Linked DNA regions of Homo sapiens: region 1 is linked to region 2. The links are contacts of gene promoters, found by promoter capture Hi-C in blood cells and fetal thymus (Javierre and others, 2016). All regions are on one chromosome and are shown on one strand. The core of a region is centred on a gene start or on the middle of the fragment in contact, and the rest is flanking DNA. Distances in the headings are between cores, read along the strand shown.

Region 1 (6,611 bases), core at 1,090-3,589, 38 kb before region 2:
AAAAAATTGACCTGACTATACATGGAGGAAGTATGTTTTGGGCTACTAAATTAATTATAAAATGTTTATTAGTCTCATGGCTGATTTTGTTTTTCTGCTCTCACTTTTGTTTCATAAAATTTTAAAAAGTACATGAAAACAGCAAAACATAGTGCACAAATATTGCATGTAGATGAATTAGGTGACACCACCACACCAGAATGAATAACCTACACCACTTTCTGATAATGCTTCAAAATGTCTGTTTATCAGCTCGTAAACACATAGTTAACTTAGTAAGTTACGGGGCACTAACCAATACATGAACCGTAGAATTGTGTGGTTGATAAAAGGTTAATATAAGATAGCTCATGGCATAGCATAAAATTTTGGTTATTAAATGAGCAAAAGACACTGACTGTATAGTACAATAATTGTTATGCCATCTATAAGTACATGTACAAATAAGGCACAAAGGAAAATAATTAGGAAAAATTATAATGTTAACAAAATGTTAACGACAGTTTTGAATTGTTTTCATTTACTTTTTTTGAATTTTGTTATCTTCTGATTCTTTTCCAATTAACATGGTTTACATATACGATAGTATCGCACTTTTAAATATTAAGAAATTTAATTGTGAAAAATGTATTATTCCATCTTTGATGATGTCAGTCACAGAGTAACTATTTTTTCTGGAAATGCCTTCTCCACCACGCCTGTAAAATATTGAGAACATCACAAGAAAAGACCAATTCATAATTTCCTTCATTTGTGTGGCTTCTAAGGTAAAAAGGAAAATCTTTGCACAAAGCCTAACATGGCTACATTTAGTCCTTGAACTTTTGTGCTTGGAAACATGCCAAACAATCTGCCTTGGCAAATGGCCCCCAGGGCCTACCAAAAGGTGCATTGTCATCAGCCTCTGGTATATGAGATCCTCTGGAATTATCCGAGTGAGAGGGAAAGAATAATCTCCTTATGGTCACAGTGGCTGCCGGTCTTCTTTGACACATAACTTCTTGGTAATCTTTCCATTAGACCAGAACCTAAACAAAATTTCTAGATTGGTTTATCATAACTCAGAATAAAACATAATGAATGCACCAAAATGTAAAAACAACTTATCTCAAGGAAAACAAATATTATAAAAATTTTCATCTCCTTAAATAGTTTTCTTATTTTATTTATAACAAAAATTTGAAGTTGACAAATTTCCATACAGATAATATAAGAAGAAAGTTTTTTCATGAATGTTGACTTACACACAGTAAGTATTATTCTCAAAATTGGAAGATTTTGTTTCACATTTTACTTCAGATGAAATAAAATGGGGACTTTCGCAGAATAATATATTAATATATATTAATGTATATATTAATATATACACATATCATTTACTCTCTACCCTAAGTAATGTCAGGGTTTGTGAGACAAATGTAGAGTTGCCAGAATCAGAGTCTACAAGCAAAGTATACATTTTGAAAATATAATTTTTTGGAAGAAATTAGATTTTGATTAGTTATGTCAGGAAAACATCACATCTTTTATAAATTAATACTTATATATTGTCTATAATTTTAATGTACCTGACTAAAAACCCCAAGGGTGAAATTTATTGAAAATTATTATTAAATAATATTGGAAACAAAAGGGCAGTAAATTATATAATAAAACTGTTTCCTCTCATTTTTTATTACATGTCCACCTCTTTTCTCAAGTTTTCTGAAATTATTTATAAACAAGATTGTAGTATTATAAGCCTTCTCTCTGAAGGAATATATCTTTGTAGAATCAGTGTCAACATTGAATTGATCTGACTTTGGATAAGTTACTCCAACCTTCCATACTCTTTTTTTCCCTCACCTAAACTATGTGGATAATAGTAGTATCTATGGTATAATATTTTCAGGTGGATTAAATATATTAATAAAGGAAGCCATTCAGAACAATGTCAGGTTCATTCTAATTATGCAATATGCTACATTTTATTATAACATATGCAAATGTTAATTTGAACTTATATCTATATTGGCAATAAAATTAGTCTCTTTAGTCATATTCTATAAATTTATTAGCAATTTGTAGAATGTTAAACTAATTATTAAATGCTAGGTCATTCATATAAACAGAAATTTTTTTTGATTGTTTTGTTTATTTTTTTTGAGTCGGAGTCTGGCACAGTTGCTGGGGCTGCAATGCAATAGTGTGATCCCAGCTCACTGCAACCTCTGGCTCACTGCAACCTCCGGCTCCCATGTTCAAGCGATTCTCCTGCCTCAGCTTCTCCAGTAGCTGGGAGTACAGGCGCCCCTGCTACGTATCAACTTTGATTTCTCAGCAGTTTAGAGCAGGTGAACATGATGGGTAGAAGGAATGACACAAATGTGGCTGACTTCATCCTTACGGGACTGTCAGACTCTGAAGAGGTCCAGATGGCTCTGTTTATGCTATTTCTCCTCATATACCTAATTACTATGCTGGGGAATGTGGGGATGCTATTGATAATCCGCCTGGACCTCCAGCTTCACACTCCCATGTATTTTTTCCTTACTCACCTGTCATTTATTGACCTCAGTTACTCAACTGTCGTCACACCTAAAACCTTAGCGAACTTACTGACTTCCAACTATATTTCCTTCACGGGCTGCTTTGCCCAGATGTTCTGTTTTGTCTTCTTGGGTACTGCTGAATGTTATCTTCTCTCCTCAATGGCCTATGATCGCTATGCAGCGATCTGCAGTCCTCTACACTACACAGTTATTATGCCCAAAAGGCTCTGCCTCGCTCTCATCACTGGGCCTTATGTGATTGGCTTTATGGACTCCTTTGTCAATGTGGTTTCCATGAGCAGATTGCATTTCTGTGACTCAAACATAATTCATCACTTTTTCTGTGACACTTCCCCAATTTTAGCTCTGTCCTGCACTGACACAGACAACACTGAAATGCTGATATTCATTATCGCTGGTTCCACCCTGATGGTGTCCCTTATCACAATATCTGCATCCTATGTGTCCATTCTCTCTACCATCCTGAAAATTAATTCCACTTCAGGAAAGCAGAAAGCTTTCTCTACTTGCGTCTCTCATCTCTTGGGAGTCACCATCTTCTATGGAACTATGATTTTTACTTACTTAAAGCCAAGAAAGTCTTATTCCTTGGGAAGAGATCAAGTGGCTCCTGTGTTTTATACTATTGTGATTCCCATGCTGAATCCACTCATTTATAGTCTTAGAAACAGAGAAGTGAAAAATGCTCTCATTAGAGTCATGCAGAGAAGACAGGACTCCAGGTAGTTAAAATAGCAGAAATGGAACATTTAATCTCATCTTTTCTTTCATTCCTATTGGGTATTTTCTTAGTCTCTCTATAAAAACAATTGAATCCTTTAATTTATTTGCATTTCTGTTGTGCTACTCTTTGCTTGACTAAACATGATTTAAAACATTTCAAGGCATATGTTTTTAGAAATCCAAATGGTAATTAGAATCATAATATGTGTGTCATGTTTTGAAGCAACTGATGTGGAAAATAAGAAAATAAGGTTGTCATTTTTAATTATATTATTCAAATTCTTATGTATGCTTCAACTGTAGATAAATTTATTATGGAAAGAATATTTGAGACACGGTGATAATAGTTTTAGATGTTATTCCATTTATTATGTGGGGAAGAATCATAGCAGAGTGGGTAGGAGTACTTACTTTGGAATAAAATTTTCCAAGAGTTAGATTCTAAATATGCTACACTTTTAGCTGTGTAGCCATTAATATGTTACCTAAAGCTTAAGCCTCCTTTCCCTAAGTGCGCAAGATAAATAACTCCAAATCTGATCAGAGGGTAGTTGTAGAGTATTTAAAGCGATAATAATTAATGCTTCCCATTATCATTAGAAGACCTACATTACTGCACAGTGCGTTTTTTCAAGAATGTAAACTCGTGTTTCACAAATTACTTTTGGTTAATTTAATTGACAGAACTAAAAAGAACAAAAATCAGCAGCTCACAATTTTGGATTTCAGAAGTAAAATATTTCAGTAGAATTATGTTATAGAAAAAATAGCCTATATTAATATAATGTTAGAGAAAATTTGAAAATATTATAAAATATTGAAGAAAATAGAAATCCTCTACAAATATTGAGTTTTGGCTGCTCTTCCTGTGGAGTAGCCATTCTTTTGTTTATTTACTTCTCTAATAAACTCGTTTTCAGTTTTAGAAAAACAAATATTGAGTTTTGTGCATGTTCTTCTAGATCAATAGTTTCAAATACGTGCACATATATAACGCATATAAACAAAAATTTCTATCACTTTCTACATACTGATTTTCAGCTTTCTGTATTCATTTACAAGTTTAACATTAGATAATCTCTTTGTCATCGACAAATCTAACATAAAGTTTTTCTTGATACATGGGCACAATCAAGTCTCATTTCACAATGTTTTGGACTTGAAATATAAATTCATCACGTTAAAAATCTACATGCAGTGATATGTCCTTTGCATGCTAAACAGGTGAAAAGTGGATTTCCGTAATGTGTCAAATTGCTTCTTTATTAAAATCCTGTGTGTTTTTAAAAATCATTGCCTTTCTCCTGTTTTCTACAGGTTTGTTTCAGTTTTAAAATAACTCCTTGAATTAAATGCTTTATTCATTGATTTTACATTTCTTAATACAGAAAAGATGTAAAGCAAAGAATTGACAATGAATTCAGTTGTTGTGACATCCCATCAATTTTAGTCAGGTAGTGTGCTTAAATGTCTTTTATTTTTAAATGTTTTCCTTACATATTCTGGAAACACAGTTTTGTTTTTATCTGCTATTTAAAGGATATTTTAGAAGCTAGTTTTTATTTTCCAAGTATTTGTCTTTTTTGTTTAAACTTTTGTAACAGTTACTAGATAGACTGTTTTCGTTTATATATTGAAATTTTTGTTTGTACAATTATATTTGATTTTTTCTAAGTGCATTTTGAATGTTTAAAATAGACTGTATCCTCTATTTTAGGAGTTAACATTTTAATAAAATTTCACTTATTCAAACTGTCAGCTAATTTATTCAAATCTTTTAAATACATATTGTTTCCTCTTAATTTATTTCACAATTTTGTTTATCAAGTATTAATGCCATGTAAAATTATTATAATTTAATTTTTGCTTTGATATCCATTTTTTCAGGAATATATATTTATAGGTCCCTGTATTTGTTTTCATTTGCAATTAGAAATAAGTATTTAATCGACATTTATTATTTAATAATATGTTTTTGGCTCATTCTTATCTAATAAATGCATAATATAAGTTCATGTATTTACAGGTTCTTTCCATTTTTCTATTTATTTCTATAAACTATGGTTTTATCTTGCTTTCATTTATGTCTACTTCTATGATTTAGAAAATGGATCCTGTCAATTTGGGTTGCAAAGATGGCCAACAGAATCTATCACTTTGTGGTCAACACATGGTGGGAAATTGTTTACATTCTAATTTAATGAGGACCACCCTATCATCTTCATAACATAGGCTAAAACATATTCACATAATGTTATTAAAAAGTATACAATAATCTATGCACAACATGAAAGATTTAGACTGTTCACATTTGGCCTATACTTTCCTTATTATATTGGTGTAAAGTATATTTTATGTAAGATATTGTCTAATTGAAGACATAGTTGTCTGGTTCATAGTGTCATGCCAAAATGCCCTATGATATAAATATGAAACAAACCCTGTCATTGAGCATGGCAAGATATGAACAGCTATTTTTACTTCCACATAATTATGGCTAGAGGAAAACAGTAATAATATATTTTTCTGAGCACTTTCCATGGTCAGGCAATATTCAAAGGCTTTATGTATATCTAATTAACATAATTTATTGTTATAATTTAACTGTCAGGTCAGTACTAGCAATATGTAAAGTTTAATCTCACATTAATGGAAAACCACCCTTTACTTGTTCAAGCAGACTTAAGAATTTTCTTGGAATTTTCTTCTTATTGAACACACTTTACTTCCTTTCCATCAGCATATTAAGGTGATTCTAAATATAGACTGTATTTGGTGTCTGTTTTAACATGTTTTTGCCGCCATCGTGGCCAAGATAACTATATTTTCCACTTCAGAATTATTGCTTCAATATTGTAGAATGCACCTAACTTTTTTTCTTATTCCTCTTGAGTCTAATCTCAATGTAGGAGCCAGAGTTATACTGTGAAACAGTAGGTTAGATCATAATTTTTCTTCACAAACCCTATATAATATTTCTGAAATACGGCCTGAAATTTTCCATTTTCTTTTTCCTGAAACTTTTTTTCCCCAAAGATAACTGCATCATTTTTTTCTTATCCTTTTCTCGACAAGAAAATCTCTCACCACCCTATTAAAACTGGTACCTGTTCACATCCTCTTTCAAACGTTCTTCTTTTTTCATAGCACTTATTCCCATCTGATGTTCTAAATATTTTTCTTGTGCCTTTTATTTTGTGTCAGTTTTCCCCTATTATCATGTAAGCTCTATGAGCATAGGACTTTCCCCCAGTACCTAGAACAGTACCTTAATAAATGTATTTAAAGACTGAATTTTATAGATCATGAAACTGGAACACAGAGAGATTCAATAAC
Region 2 (6,131 bases), core at 1,696-4,195:
CTTATCTCTCACCTTATGCACAAATCAACTCAAGATGGATCAAAGACTTAAATCTAAACATGAAACCATAAGTTTCCTAGAAGATAACATTGGAAGAACTCTTATAGACATTGGTTTAGGAAAAAAGTTCATGAAAAATAACCCAAAAGCAAAAGCAACAAAAACAAAAATAAATAAATGGGACCTAATTAAACTAAATAGCTTCTGCATAGCAAGGTAAATAATCAGTAGAGTAAGCAGACAACCCAAAGAATGGAAAAAAATATTTGCAAACTATGCATTTAACTGTCATGGTTTGCCACTCTTACTACGGTTACCATGGGACTGAATGAAGGACGAACACAGAAATGAAAACTTAGAACATGAGAAACTATTTTAAAGAGAGGGTCCGGGGAAGAAGAAGAGGGCTCCTTGCTTCTAGTCTGCAAAGGTAGCCCTGAGATTCTACAGCCCTTCGTATTTATTGGGTAGAAACAGCAAGGAGGAGGAGGTAACGATTGGTCAGCTGCTTAATTGATCACAGGTTCACATTATTGCTAACAGGCTTCCGATGTGCCTAATCACAAGAAACACTGTGCCTAGGGCATGACTACCCTCAGCATTCCTTCTGGGCATCAGACATAGTTTGTCATTTTGCCAACATTCTGCATTTACGAGAATAGTTTGCTGTTTACTCATATAGCCTCCAGTGGTATACTGAGTTGATCACAACCCTCACTCTTTCGGACTACAACATTCAACAATGGACTAATATCCAGAATCTACAAGTAAATCAAGCAAATCAGCAAGAAGTGAACAAATAATCCCATCAAAAAGTGGACAAAGGTCATGAATAGACAACTCCAAAAGAAGATATACTTATGACCAAAAAAATATTTAAAAATGCTCAACATCACTAAGTATCTGGAAAATGCAAATCAAACCACAATGAGATTACCTTACTCCTGCAAGAATGACCATAATTTAAAAATAAAAAAAAAGTGTTGGCATGAATGTGGTGAAAAGGGAACACTTTCACACTGCTGGTAGGAGTGTAAACTGGTACAACCACTTTGGAAAACAGTATGGAGATTTTTTAAATAAGTAAAAGTAGAACTTTCACTTGATCCAGCAATCCCACTCCTGGGTATCTACCCAGTGGAAAAGAAGTCATTATGTGAAAAAGACACTTGCACATCCATGTTTAGAGCAGGGAAATTAGCAATTGCAGTAGTATGTAACCAGCCTAAATGTCCATCAACCAACTAGTGGATAAAGAAAATGTGAGATCTATATATATATATATACACACACACACACACACACATATATATCTCATGAAATCCGAAAATCTGATTACTCATTGAAAATCTGATATATATAAAGAAAATGTGATATATATATGACAAAAAGTGGACTCATATAACCAGAATATGATATACATATCACATTTTCTTTATATATACCATATATATATCAAATGATATATATAGATATCACGTTTTCTTTATCTATATATATGTGTGTGTGTGTGTATATATATATATATGTATATATATATATGATGGAATACTACTCACTTATAAAAAGGAACAAAATAATGGCATTCACAGCAACCTGGATGGAGCTGGAGACCTTTATTCTAAGTGAAGTAACTCAGGAATGGAAAACCAAATATCATATGTTCTCACTTATAAGTGGGAGCTAAACTATGAGGATACAAATAGGTAAGAATGACATAATGTATTTTGGGGACACAGGGAAAAGTGTGCAGTGTGGGCGAGGGATAAAAGGCTACACATTGAGTACAGTGTACACTGCTCAGGTGATGAGTGCACCAAAACCTCAGAAATTACCCCAATGAACTTATTCACATAACCAGAAACCTCCTACTTCCCAAAAATTATTGAAATAAAAAACAATTAAAAAAATTTGAAAATTGGAAAATTTATATACACATGAAAAATTATCAAGTGACATTAATCTATATTATATATTTATTATAACAATATTACAAATTGATTATTAAACACAAAGTTGACATCAATTCTCAAAGAGCTTATAGAAGGCATTTTTCACCTCTTCGTTTCTTAAGCTGTAAATCAAAGGGTTAAGCATGGGGATTACTAAAGTGTAAAACACAGAAGCCATTTTATCAGTATCAAAGAAGTGAGTGGAATTGGGCTGCATGTACATGAAGAGTAGAGACCCATAGAACACAACCACCACTGTCAAATGGGAACCACATGTGGAGAAAGCCTTTTTCCTGCCCTCTGCAGAATGCATTTGACATATAGCTAACAAAATCAACATGTAGGACACTAAGACTATCAGAAAGGAGGAGATCAAATTAAATACAGAAAATAGTATGCTCAACAATTCTATTTCCTGTGCATTTGAGCAAAGCATAGGTAGCAAAGGAACATCATCACAGTAAAAATGACTGATGACATTAGAGCCACAGAAGGTCAATGTAAAAATCTTAATAGTGAACATCAGAGCCTGAAATGTGCTGTAGAGATATTGAATGCCCACCAGTACATGACACAGTCGCTGAGACATAATAACATAATAGAGCAGAGGGTTACAAATGGCCACATAGCGGTCATAGGCCATGGCTGACAGGATGAAAAATTCACTGATAATGAACATAAGGAAGAATGCCAGCTGTGCAGCACATGCATAATAGGAAATAGTATTTCGATCCACAACAAAATTTGCCAGCACCTTGGGACAAATGACAGTAGAATTACCAAGATCAACAAAAGCCAAATGTCTGATAGAAAAGTACATAGGTGTATGTAAGTGGGAGTCCAGTTTGGTCAAAATGATCATAGTTAGGTTGCCCACCACTGTGATTAGGTAGATGACGAGGAAGACTCCAAAAAGGGGAATCTGCAGCTCAGGCCGCCTTGTGAGTTCCATCAGAATGAATTCAGTTAGCACTGTTAGATTGTGTTGGCCCATTTAGTCCAGTTATCTCTTCTAGGAAGAAACAGTTGGGTTATTAGCTGTTCCATGTAGTGCTATTTAAACAAATTATAATATTTGTAGACAGAATAGATTGTTATTCACAATAGATAATAGAAACATTATTTCTACATTTGATTCAGAAATGAAATATAAAGCAAAATTTTCTACTTTCCTAAAAGAGGAATTCATGTAAAATACATGCACTGAAACAACATAGATTAAATAGTTTCATCAATATTTGAAGTATATCGGTTAATAACACAGCCATATAGGTATTATTACAAAAAGATTATGCTCTTTTCATCTGCACAATGGTATCATGATTTTCTTTTGTTCACTTCCACTTTTGTTGTAAAACTTTTCTGTAATTTTGATATTCTCAAAGACAGAGGTAGAGATGGCAATAAGATAATGAAGGTTAAGATTTGGGGTCCCTCATTTGCACTTCCAGGGTCTTGTGTGGGGACTTACGAATGCACGCAAAAATGATATATCTTTGTAAAATTTCAAATGTAAGATATAATAATCATGATCAATTAAGGCTGCTTTCTGTTTTCATTCCAACTTCTAGTATATCACACTTCAACTAATATCATAGTGACTTGACATTTCTGCAAGCATTGTGGGATCTAGCTAAAGAAGGATTGAGTTAATAATAGTTTATTTGATGTTCAATGGATATGTTTATATCATTCAGACACTATGATATTTATCACTGAATAATACTACCTATTCTGACTTAAGAATGTCTTCTAAGGATACTCTTGCCACCTGTATGCTGAGATGCATTTGGCATTTGATTAATTAACATACTATATTAATAAATTTTATATAGTTTGTGGCCATGGGTTTGTTTACTAATTACAATTTAAAGCTAATTTTCTATTCTAAATAAATATTCCCATTTATCTTTCAACTTGTATGTGTAATTTTATCTAAAAAGTCAAATTCTTCTAAGCTTCAAGACACATAATCTGGATCCACTTCTGCAAAAACATGATTTAAATCAATATTCAGTGATGACTATTTAATTATATGTACTTTATTTTCTGTAATAAAACACTGTGAAGATGGTAGGTTCTATAAATCATTTAAATAATTTGAGAATTTAGGACATCATATATTAGTGAATGACTTTTTTTCTGGAATTGTACAGTGGAGTATTCATGGAGATATAATACTGTAATTAAAACTATTTCAATGAAAAGTACTTCTCCCTTTATTTAAAAAATACACGGGAAGTCAATAAAAGAAAGTGGAACGTCCCTGATACAGATAGTGAAGATGTCTTAGCCTATTCCACTTAAATTCCCCTCTCCTTCAGTTTCCACTCATTGAAAATCTGGAACTCTGTGAGAGTGACTTTCAATTGGAATAGTAACGGAATTTTCCACAGATCTAATGTAGAATAGATTTATTATAATGTAATGGAATGTCAGCTTTAGCCTGCACATCCCTCAGGTAGAAAACTCTGAAAACCCACCTAAAGATCCAAAACTACAGTTTGGAGCAGGTGCAGTCCACAGCCACACTGTGGCATTTGGCAACACTTCTAGGTATCTGCTCATTAGTGGGAGACATTTTGCCAACTTCATCTATGGACTACAGATGTGGGAAGGGGGCAACAGTGGAGGTTAGTGACCCTCTTCCATTCCTTCTCCCTAAATGAAGCTGTCTGCTGTTTCTCCATTGAACTTCACCCCTCTTTTAGGTCTTTCTTTTCCCACAGATAAGAACCATGACTATTCTATTTCTAAAACTTTATCTTAAATTTGCAGTATTGCAGGAATTGCTCACATAGGGTTTTATGGTAGAATAGAAGATGCACTGAATTGCAAAGGAAATTCAGAATTCCAACATCAATCCCACCAATCTGAAGTCAATACTTTGCTTAAAATGGTTTTAGTTTTTATTCAGTCTATTTCCATTGTCACTGTCAATTATTATCTCCCTCTGAAGATTTCTCAATTTTGTATCCTACCTGTTTTTCTTATGGAAAAAAGTATATTTCTAACGTATTTGAATAATTATGCATACATTTTAAATACCCTTGTTTAGGGATAACCAATAGAAAAGACAGGATAAAAAAGTATGCAAAGGAATTATTTTTCAGTCTTTAGCCTTCATGAAATCTTTTAGGAATTAATGATAGTTCAGGGATTTATTGGTAACTCTATAACTTTAAAAATTATTTCTATTTATTTTACAGTCTACTTAATCAGTTTGTAATGCCTATTGTTTAAAGGAAAACAATAGTAGTAACTCAGTAAAAATAAACCAAAAATATGCAAGTTTATATATGTAATATCACTATCTAGAAATTATTTGAAGCTTGTAAAATGTTGTATAGAAAAACATGGACACAGGGAGGGGACACAGGAAGGGGAACACAGGGAGGGGAACACCGGGGCCTCTCAGCGGGTGGGGGCTAGGGGAGGGATAACATCAGGAGAAAAACCTAATGTAGGTGACGGGTTGATGGGTGCAGCAAACCACCATGGCACATGTATACCTATGTAACAAACCTGCACATTCTGCACAGGTACCCTAGAACTTAAAGTATAATTAAAAAAAGCAAGAAAAAAAGAAAATACATATTTTAAAACACTATTTTTGAAATATTTTATTACATGTGTTCATAGTACTTCCTGATTATATGAAAAATGGAGATGGAAATCTTGCATTGTATCTGGGAATCTTAACCTTTCTAGATTCTAATAGATGAGATCATTGGCCAGGAACAGTGGCTCACGCCTGTAATCCCAGCACTTTGGGAGGCCAAGGCAGGCGGATCACGAGGTCAGCATCCTGGCTAACACAGTGAAACCCCGTCACTACTAAAAACACAAAAAAAATTAGCCGGGCGTGGTGTTGGGCGCCTGTAGTCCCAGCTACGCGGGAGGCTGAGGCAGGAGAATGGTGTGAACCTGGGAGGCGGAGCTTGCAGTGAGCCGAGATTGCACCACTGCACTCCAGCCTGGGTGACAGTGCGAGCTTCCATCTCAAAAAAAAAAAAAAAAAAAAAAAAAAAAAAAAAAAAAGGAAAGAAAAAGATAAGATCATTGATGACTTGGTTTTGTATTTCTAATGTATTTGAATTTTTCTTCATTTGCTATATCTAAATGCTACTATTGATTCTCACAAATCAATAGATCTAGGACCTCTGTTCAACTCATAGG

What was found. Contacts are between HindIII fragments. The CHiCAGO score rates a contact against its expected background, and 5 or more counts as called.
Region 1: the fragment with the promoter of OR8H3 here is called in contact with the fragment with the promoter of OR8K5 in region 2 in 12 of 17 cell types (neutrophils, total B cells, monocytes and 9 more); the score reaches 14.5 in neutrophils.

Annotation. Positions count from the first base shown.
Region 1 is chr11:56,120,034-56,126,644 of GRCh38, forward strand. It overlaps OR8H3 (olfactory receptor family 8 subfamily H member 3), which reads left to right and starts at 2,340. Exons shown (of 1, transcript NM_001005201.1): 1 at 2,340-3,278. The coding sequence starts at 2,340. The coding sequence ends at 3,278. The HindIII fragment of the contact is 10,899 bases long and covers 1-3,046 here.
Region 2 is chr11:56,157,372-56,163,502 of GRCh38, forward strand. It overlaps OR8K5 (olfactory receptor family 8 subfamily K member 5), which reads right to left and starts at 2,946. Exons shown (of 1, transcript NM_001004058.2): 1 at 2,023-2,946. The coding sequence starts at 2,946. The coding sequence ends at 2,023. The HindIII fragment of the contact is 6,274 bases long and covers 1-3,908 here.